Regions from separate parts of the Homo sapiens genome. Here region 1 is linked to region 2. The links are contacts of gene promoters, found by promoter capture Hi-C in human tissues and cell types (Jung and others, 2019). All regions are on one chromosome and are shown on one strand. Each heading gives the region's core, a stretch centred on a gene start or on the middle of the fragment in contact. The rest is flanking DNA. Distances are from core to core; before and after follow the strand shown. Region 1 overlaps SPNS2-AS1 (SPNS2 antisense RNA 1). Region 2 holds the start of ALOX15 (arachidonate 15-lipoxygenase).

What was found. The method cuts DNA at HindIII sites, captures the fragments that hold promoters and counts their contacts. A contact is called where the count stands out against the background at its distance.
Region 1: a fragment that was not itself captured here is called in contact with the fragment with the promoter of ALOX15 in region 2 in 2 of the 25 tissues and cell types used here (IMR-90 fibroblasts and mesendoderm cells).

The regions. Positions count from the first base shown.
Region 1 is chr17:4,491,766-4,496,256 of GRCh38, forward strand. All of the region lies in intron 2 of SPNS2-AS1 (SPNS2 antisense RNA 1), which reads right to left. Among named protein-coding and RNA genes, the nearest start is that of SPNS2-AS1, 4.7 kb to the right of the region's middle. The HindIII fragment of the contact is 5,950 bases long and covers 144-4,491 here.
Region 2 is chr17:4,638,759-4,643,255 of GRCh38, forward strand. ALOX15 (arachidonate 15-lipoxygenase) reads right to left here and starts at 2,920. Exons shown (of 14, transcript NM_001140.5): 1 at 2,759-2,920; 2 at 672-873; 3 at 293-374; 4 at 92-214. The coding sequence starts at 2,893. RefSeq lists an enhancer at 1-363. The HindIII fragment of the contact is 22,491 bases long and covers 1-4,497 here.

The DNA of each region.
Region 1 (4,491 bases), core at 1,869-4,368, 150 kb before region 2:
AGGCAGCTGGAGGTTCCGGGAGCCATGCTTTATCTCAGCACAGACAGGTGTGTGACTGCGTGTGCTCCTGTGTGACCATATCAGTTTGGGTTGTGGGGTTGTATGCAACGGAAACAGACTGACTACCTCTACCAGGCAAAGGATGCATTGAAAGCACATCAGGAACTCATAGAATTGATGAGAAGGTTGGAGATTCAGGAGCCAGGGTTCCTGGGCCATATTATTTTGGGGTCTGTGCCAGAACTCCAGATATTTTATCCCTATTCTTTTGCCACCCTCCTCAAGATTTAAAGCCCTGGGCAAGAGATTCCAGTTGGGTTAGCTTGGATCCTATACCCATGCCTTGGTTTATAGCCGCATTAAGACCAGCAGACCAGTGTGCCGTTAGGAAGAGGAAGGAAGTCTCAGCACCAAAACAAAACAGGAATTAAAACAAGATGACAGGCTGGGCGCGGTGGTTCATGCCTGTAATCCCAGCACTTTGGGATGCCAAGGTAGGTGGATCACCTGAGGTCAGGAGTTCAAGACCAGCCTGGCCAACATGGAGAAACCCCGTCTCTATTAAAAATACAAAAATTAGCTGGGCTTGGTGGTGCGCACCTGTAATCCCAGCTACTCAGGAGGGTGAAGCAGGAGAATCGCTTGAACTCAGGAGGCGGAGGTTGCAGTGAGCTGAAATCGTGCTCCAGCCCGGGCAACAAGAGTGAAACTCCTTCTTGGAAAAAAAAAAAAAAAGAAGAAGAAAGAAAACAAGATGACAGAAAACAAAAACAAAGGTAGCATCCACTACAATATCTCGGGCAGGCCACTGGCCATCTCTGAGGTGCAGCCTCTCCATGGGATGGGGAAGAGGCTGGACTCGATGCCCTTCGGTGGAGTCTTTATTTCTGATAGTCTGCATCCATGATGAAAAGAGACTGAAGCTTCTGTAATGTAGAAAGTGTTAAAAATGTTCAAATGGCAGAACAGGAACTTCTGTGTTAGTGGGGACTCAGAGCCATCTGTTCTGAGCAGGAGAGAGAGGCAGAGACGAAGCGTTCTGAGCAAAGATAGGCTCGGGCTGGGGGAGGGAACGGGGGCCCCAACCAGTCCTCAGCTTGGCAACAGCAAGAGCAGAGAGGAGGTGCCTTCTCCCCACCGTGGGTGGTGACCTGCGGGGAAGGCTAATCAAAGGGTGGAGGCAAACAGCAGGTGGAAGCTAATGGAGGGTGGAGTCAATCAGGAAGAAAATGCCTTTTCCAGAGGAACCAGGAGACGAATCTGGTTTCTGAGTCATTCAGAGCAACAGACGCGTGATGCAAATCAATGTACATTTCCTGAGCACCTGCTAAATGTCATTTACTCATTCAATCAACAAACATTCTTTGAGCACCTCCTCTGTACTGGCTCGTGGAGATGAATCAGAAAGGGTACGGGCCCTCGAGGCTCACGGTCTGTTGGTGAAGGGCGGGGGACAGATTCTTGCACAGACAAAAATCAGCACAGTGTTGGTGTGATGGAAGGATACACAGGTTACTCAATAGCCCAGAGGAGGAAATGGTTGTTCAGGTGGGCCGGGGAAGGCTTCCCGGAGGAAGCTGTTTCTGTGCTGGGTTCCTGAAGGACAAGTGGGAAGAGTGAATAGGCCACACAGGCAGAGCATGCCTCAGTCAGGGTCGGGGTCAGGGGTTGCACGCGGGATGCTCTCCATGGTCCTGAATCATCGCTGTGCTAGTGGGACAAGGGCTTTTTTGTTGATAGGAGGACAGGGGCTATAGAATAGTGCCCCAATTCTTGCCCCTCCCCCAGGCTCCAGGAAGTATTATAACTGTGAGTTCAAGAAGCTCCATGTTCAGTGTGGCAGAGGGTAATTTTGAGAGATGGGCCGTAGGATCTGAGGCTGGAGATTGTCATGGGTTGTGAAAAGTTGTGAAGGCTCTTGGAGATCATTAAGGAATGTAGTTTTTTTTTTTGAAACAGAGTCTCGCTCTGTCACCCAGACTGGAGTGCAGTGGCGCGATCTCGGCTCACTGCAAGCTCCGCCTCCTGGGTTCACGCCATTCTCCTGCCTCAGCCTCCCGAGTAGATGGGACAACAGGCGCCCACCACCACGCCCAGCTAATTTTTTGTATTTTTTAGTAGAGACAGGGTTTCACCATGTTAGCCAGGATTGTCTCGATCTCCTGACCTCGTGATCCGCCCGCCTCGGCTTCCCGAAGTGCTGGGATTACAGGCGTGAGTCACTGCGCCCGGCCAGGAACGTAGACATTTTTAACCCTATAGCCAGTGAAGAGCCTTAGAAAGGTTTTGCTCAAGGTAGTGATGAGGTCCTTTGTGGGATTCAGAAAGTGACTGATAAGCAATATGGAGAAACGACTGGAGGGCCGGCCGAGCACAGTGGCTCACGCCTGTAATCCCAGCACTTTGGGATGCCAAGGTGGGTGGATCACTTGAGGCCAGGAGTTCGAGACCAGCCTGGCCAACATGATGAAACCCCGTCTCTACTAAAAATAAAAAAAATTAGCCGGGCATGGTGGTGCACACCTGTAATCCCAGCTACTCAGGAGGCTGAGGCAGGAGAATTGCTTGAACCCAGGAGGCAGAGGTTGCAGTGAGCCGAGATTGTGCCATTGCACTCCAGCCTGGGTGACAGAGCAGGACTCCGTCTCAAAAAACAAACAAACAAAACTGGAGGGGGATGTGGGAACAGGTAATGTTGAGCTTTACAAGGGTCCAGGTAAGACACAGAGAGGCCTGAGCTAAGCCAGTGGGCAATGTGGACGTGGGGAGATGTTCAAGAGAGGAAATTGAAAGCCCTTAGATGTGGCTGTTGAGGAGAAGGAGCCCCACATGGCTCCCAGGCTTTCTGCTTGGCGACAGTGTGGATGATGGTGTTTTTGACAAAAGATAAATGATACCAGAGTGGGAGCAGGTTGGGGGAAGGATGACAAGTTCAGTTTCAAATGTGCTGAGCCTAAGGTACATGTGGGATATCTGGTGGGGGGCACGTGTAGGAGGCTGCATATGGATCTCGTGTTTGGAGATGAGGCCCTGTCTAGAGATGGAGGTTGGGGTGTCATAGTCACATGGATGATCATTGAAAGTTGAGGCCACAGCTGCACATGGTGCTCACCCCTCTAACCCCAGCATTTTGGTAGGCTGAGGTGGGAGGATCACTTGAGCCCTAGAGTTTGAGACCAGCCTGGTCAACATAGTGAGACCTTTTTCCTAAAAAAAAAATTGCTGGGTGTGGTGGTGCACGCTTATAGTCCCAGCCTTTTGGGAAGCTGAGGTGTGGATCCTCAGGAGAGGAAGACTCTTCTTTTTTATATATATATTTTTATTTTTTATTATTATTTTTTTCTTCCTGAGATGGAGTCTTGCTCTGTCACCCAGGCTGGAATATGAAAGTCTCCGTTTCTCTGTCTTTGCTCCTGTCTGTCTTGGCTCTCTTTTTTTTGTTTTTTGTTTTTTTGTTTTTTGTTGTTGTTGTTGTTTTGAGACAGAGTCTCACTCTGTCACCCACGCTGGAGTGCAGTGGTGTGATCTCGGCTCACTACAACCTCCGCCTCCTGGGTTCAAGCAATTCTCCTCCCAAGTAGCTGGGATGACAGGCGCATGCCACCACACCCAGCTAATTTTTGTGTTTTCACTAGAGATGGGGTTTCTCCATGTTGGCTAGGCTGATCTTGAATTCCTGACCTCAAGTGATCTGCTCGCCTTGGCCTCCCAAAGTGCTGGGATTACAGGCATGAGCCACCGCGCCCAGCATCAGGAAGCCCCTTCTTAAGGAGGATCCCTTGAGCCCAAGAGGTCAAAGTTATGATGAGCTATGATTGCACCACTGCGTTCCAGCCTGGGTGACAGAGAGAGACCCTGCCTCTTAAAAATTTTTTCAAAAAAAGTAAATTTCAGGCCTAGGTGAGAGGCTGCCAAGGGGGAAGGGAAACAACCGAGGCCTGAGCCCTGGAGACACTCCCATGTGGGAGGATGGGCAGAGGGCAGATGGGCTGAGCTCCCAATTACCAGCCAAGGAGGAGCAAGTGCATTCTAGGCCAGTGTTTCTCAGAGTGTGTCCTGCAGAGCTCTCGTCTTGCAAGACATTCTGTGGTCACACACACCTGGGAACGTGGCATCCTATATCTCCCTCTGGGAGACTCAGAGCATGTATTCTCATAGTAAAGGCTCTCAAAAGTCCCTAAGGAAACCTACTTTTCTGTGTTTATCCCACTACTTCCCAAGTATGACTGCTCTTTGAATAATGGCCATTAATGTTCTGTGCCCCATTTTTTTCTTTTTTGTGTGTGTTCTTTTCTTTTTTTCCCCCCACTTTTGTTTTTTGTTTTTGTTTTTGTTTTTGAGATGGAGTCTCACTCTGTCACCGAGGCTGGAGTGCAGTGGCATGATCTTGGCTCACTGCAACCTCTGCCTCCCAAGTTCAAGCAATTCTCCTGCCTCAGCCTCCTAAGTAGCTGGGATTACAGGCGCGCCCCACCACGCCTGGCTAATTTT
Region 2 (4,497 bases), core at 1,670-4,169:
TGGGCCAGTCCAATGCAGTGCAGCCCATAAGCCCCTTGGCTTCCACTAGACCAGGACACCTCCCTCTCACCCAGCCTCCCCTTGCTCTCACCCCTTGGCCAGCGAAACCTCAAAGTCAACTCTCTTGTCTTCCAGAAATCGCTCATCCACAGGGAGGTCATATAGTTTGGCCCCAGCCATATTCAGAATTAACCCGTCCTTCCAGTTTCCCCACCTGTGGGGCAGGAAGGAAATCAAGTATGGGTGCTGGAAGCATCAGCAGCTCACGTGGGGTCAGGGGAGGAGGGCTCACCGGTACAACTTCCTTCTCTCTTCCAGCTCTTCTTCCCGGTGTTTCTGGAACAGGCCCTGAGGGTCCTCGCCCACAGTGCGGCCTAGAAGGACAGAGGAGGACTTGGCCAGTGACTTTTGGTGAGCGCCTCTTCTTGTCTCTGCCAGGAGAGCCTCAGCACCCCGTCCTTCTGTGTGGCCTCTGCCCCTTCAGCATCACGCCCCTCCCCCAGGCTCCAGCCACTTTGTGCCAGCTGCAGCCACCGCCCCTTCGACACCCCCAAAGACCCCGGCGCTCCAGGTTCCAGCACCCCCATCCTGCGCCCTCTTCTCCACACGCGCATCCCCCCAGCTTCTCACACAGCCCAGAGGCCTCCTGACACCCTCAGCCCCGCGCTTACCGGTGCCTTCAGGCAGGCTCAGGACGCCGTTGCCCTCCACCCAGCGGTAACAAGGGAACCTGACCTCGTCCCCGGCTCCGGGGCCCTGCACAGAGATCCAGTTGCAGAACCAGGCGTCGTCCTTAAGGAGGTGCCGTTTGCGCAGTTTCACAAACAGCAGCGGCCCCAGATACTCCGGTACTTCCACCTTGAGTTCTGTCTCCTGCGGGCGACAGAAGAGGCTCAGCCCCGGTGGGGCCTGGCGGGAGGGGCACCCGGCTGAGCCCTGCTCCCTCCAGCGCCCACGCCCTTCCTCGGAGCCTCTGAGAGGAGGAGACGTATCGGGGTGCGGGGACTGAGCCAGAGAGAGAGGGACCGCGCCGAGCAGGTGGCCCCAGGACTCGGTTCTGAGGGGACGGGGACGGCAGGTGGGAAGGTGCGCTCCTGCCTTCACTTTCTCCTCCCTGTGGTCACTGACTGTGCCAAGCGCTGGGCTGAGCGCTGCCGCGCCCTGGACGAGCGCGCTGTGGAGCCCGGACGCGCTGGTGGCAATTCCCGCTGTGCGACCCCCCACCCCACCCCGCCCGAGGCTGAGGACCTGCAGGGGCCCCACCGGCCTGGGGACAACCTTCCCGGAGACCTGGAGGCGGAGAGGGCTCAGCCAGGGAGAGTGACAGAAAGGGAAGGCAGGGGAAAGGCGCGCAGAAAGAGAGCGGCGGGGAAGGGAGGGCGAGCAGCATCTTGGAGCTGGAGCTCAGAGCCCAGGTGTGGGGGGTCAGCAGGTCCGGAGGCTCTCGAAGGTGGCGCCAGGGGCTTTGGATTTGGTCCCGAGAACAAGCGGGAGCCGTTCGAATGTGTTAAGCAGGGGGAGTGAATTAGGGAGAAATCATTCCGGCTTCAGAAGGGCTTGGAAGGTCTGCAGCAGAGGTGGCGAGGCCGCTGGAGGTTTGAAATGGCTTTTAAAATAGAGAAACCGGGAGGACCGACGACCGCTCCGGCGACCGCAGTTTCCAGGCACCAGAGCTGTGTGGAATGAGGGGCGCTCAGGAGCATCCCCTTAATTCCAAGGAGATCGAGTAGCGGGAACATTTATTGAGCCTTTACTGTGTGTCACCAACTGCCCACCATAGGGAGGAAAAAAGGGAGGAGGGAGCGCGCCTTTCCACCTTCCGTGCCCCGTCCCCTCACCATGGAGTCGCGGGGCCACCTGCTCCGTGCGCATTTTCTCTCTTCCTGGCTCCCTTTGCCCCGCTTTCTCGGAAGCTCGGAGCAAGGGCGTGGAGTGCGGGGAGCAGGGCTCCGCAGGTTCAAGAGGACGCGGGCGGTCGGGGGCGGGACGGATATTGGGCAGGGACGCGGGAGATGCTCAGGGTCTAGAACTGACTGCGCCGGATTCTTGTTTAGAGGGAGGTGAAGAGAGGAAGGAGGCGCGGGTGACACCGGGGGAGGCAGGAGGAGAGGGCTGGGAGGTGGGGAGAGGGGAGGACCTCATCCGGGCATGTTGCTTTGACGTTCCCTGAGACAGACATCCGGATTTGGGGATCTGGGAGAGAGCTAGAGCAGTGATGGGAATTTGGGCTTTCGCGGAAGAAAAAAAGTTAACAGGACCGGGTAGAACACCCGGTAGATGTGACATGAGATATGACGGGAGGTGGGTCGGGAAATCGAGAGCGTTCTCCTGTCTTGACTCCCCATCCCTTCCCTCTCACCACCCACTCCACCCCAGGTGATAAAGCCTGAAAGGTAGAGATCCAACAGCGCTAGCGGTTGAAACGGTTTTTAAAATAGAGAAAGCGAGAGGACCGACGGCGGCTCCAGTGACTGCTGAGTTTCCAGACAAGGGAGCTTTGTGCAATGAGGGGCGCACAGGAGCATGCCCTCAATTCCAAGGAGATCGGGTAGCGGCAACATTTATTGAGCGCTTACTGTGTGCCACCGACTGCCCTAAAGCCCCCCACCCCCGTGGCCTCCGCGCGCTTTGAGCCCAATGCGCGGGCCCTTGGCAAAGAGAATCGGCCAGAGGCCAACGGGGGCGCATGTCCTCCCCGGTATTTGACTGACTCGGAGCCAGGGGCGCAGCCCACCCCGCCCGGCTCTGGGGAGCTCACCTTGCCCCGTGCGGGCCACAGTCGCTTCCCGAGCGCCGCCTCCCCGTGCTGGCCGACCAGCCACAGCTGCACCTGGTTGTTGGAACCGGCATAGAGCGAGGCCCCAGTGGACACGCGGATGCGGTAGAGACCCATCTTGCTCAAAGATGTTTCGCTCCTTCTGGTGGAGAAGGGTGGACGAGCTAAATAACCCAGCCTGAGACCCCGCCCTCTCGGAGGTCGCTTGGGGTCGGAATGTGGGTGGCAGGTCTCCAATCAACTCCGCCTACCGCTGGGGCCCCCAGCTCCAAGGAGCAGAGCTTCAAGGGGCAGAATTCAGCCCCAGTCCAAAAGGCGGTGTCCTGGCGAGAGCAGGGAGTGGAAACCACTATCTTGACGGGAGGGAGAAAAAGAAAAGGATTTGGACCGAAAACACGCAGGAAGAGGGAATCAACGCCTGGTACAGCAGGCAGGCGAGGTGGGGGTAGGAGTTATGCACGTGTGTACCACGGACTTTGGGCCAAGCCTGGGTGGCTGGGAAGCCAACCTCCATCTAAACGCACGCGTGCACACACACACACACGCAAGGACACGCGCGCGCACACACAAGCCTCACAAGTTGGATTGCAGGAGAGGGTGAAGTGGGCGAGGAGACCCAGTTTGCAGTGGCATTTGAGGAAGGTACATTCAGGCCACGGAATTCATTCGACCAGCTTTGCACACTTGCCTTCTCTGTGCCAGCCACTGGGACTCATTCCTTTTGAGCATAAAAGCCGCTGCCTCCCTGTTGCCTGCAGAATAAAAGTCCAAATGTTTCTGGCATTCAATGCCCTTGCTAACCTGACCTGCTCTCCTCACCTCTCATCCCACTGCACCCTGGCATCTCCTGTGCTGGAGCCATGTGTTCCCCGGAACCCCCCCTCCCCCCGCCGCCCCTGCTGTTCTCTCAAAGAACTCACTTCTGGGTTAGTCTGGTCATGCTTCTAAACCCTAATTCGTCTCCAGTTTCTTTTTGGGCTGGAGCCATGTGTTCCCCAGAACCCCACCTGCTGTTCTCTCAAAAGAACTTGCTCCTGGATTAGTCTATTCATCTATTCATGCTTCTAAACCCTAGTTCACCTCCGGTTTCTCAGGAAAGTCTTACCCGGTACTTTCACCCCCCACCACCCCACCAGAGTGAATTAGCTTTCCTTTTTTTTTTTTTTTTGAGATATAGAGTCTCACTCTGTCACCCTGGAATGCAGGGTGGAGTGCAATGGCACGATCTCGGCTCACGGCAACCTCTGCCTCCCGGGCTCAAGCAATTCTCTGCCTCAGCCTTCCGAGTAGCTGGGATTACAGGCGCCTGCCACCATGCCTGGATAATTTTTGTATTTTTAGTAGAGACGGGGTTTCTCCATGTTGGCCACGCTGGTCTTGAACTCCTGACCTTGTGATCCACCCACCTCAGTCTCCCAAAGTGCTGGAATTACAGGTGTGAGCCACGGCGCCCGGCCCAGCTTTCCTTTCTAACACTTTTCTCCTTGCGCACACTTCTACTGTTGCACAGTTAATACTGCAGTGTGAGCATTTGTATGTGTGTATCCCCCACTAATGTGAGCCCGTCCTAGGCAGGGACTACACACCCAGCAGGACTCTCACTTTTGTTTCCCCTGGAGACGGCACAGTGTCAGGGTTTGTGGGTGTCAATAAGTGTTTGCTGAAACACACTGAGCTGAAAAATTCATTATAAATGAATGCTTCCCTTGGGGGAGACAAAG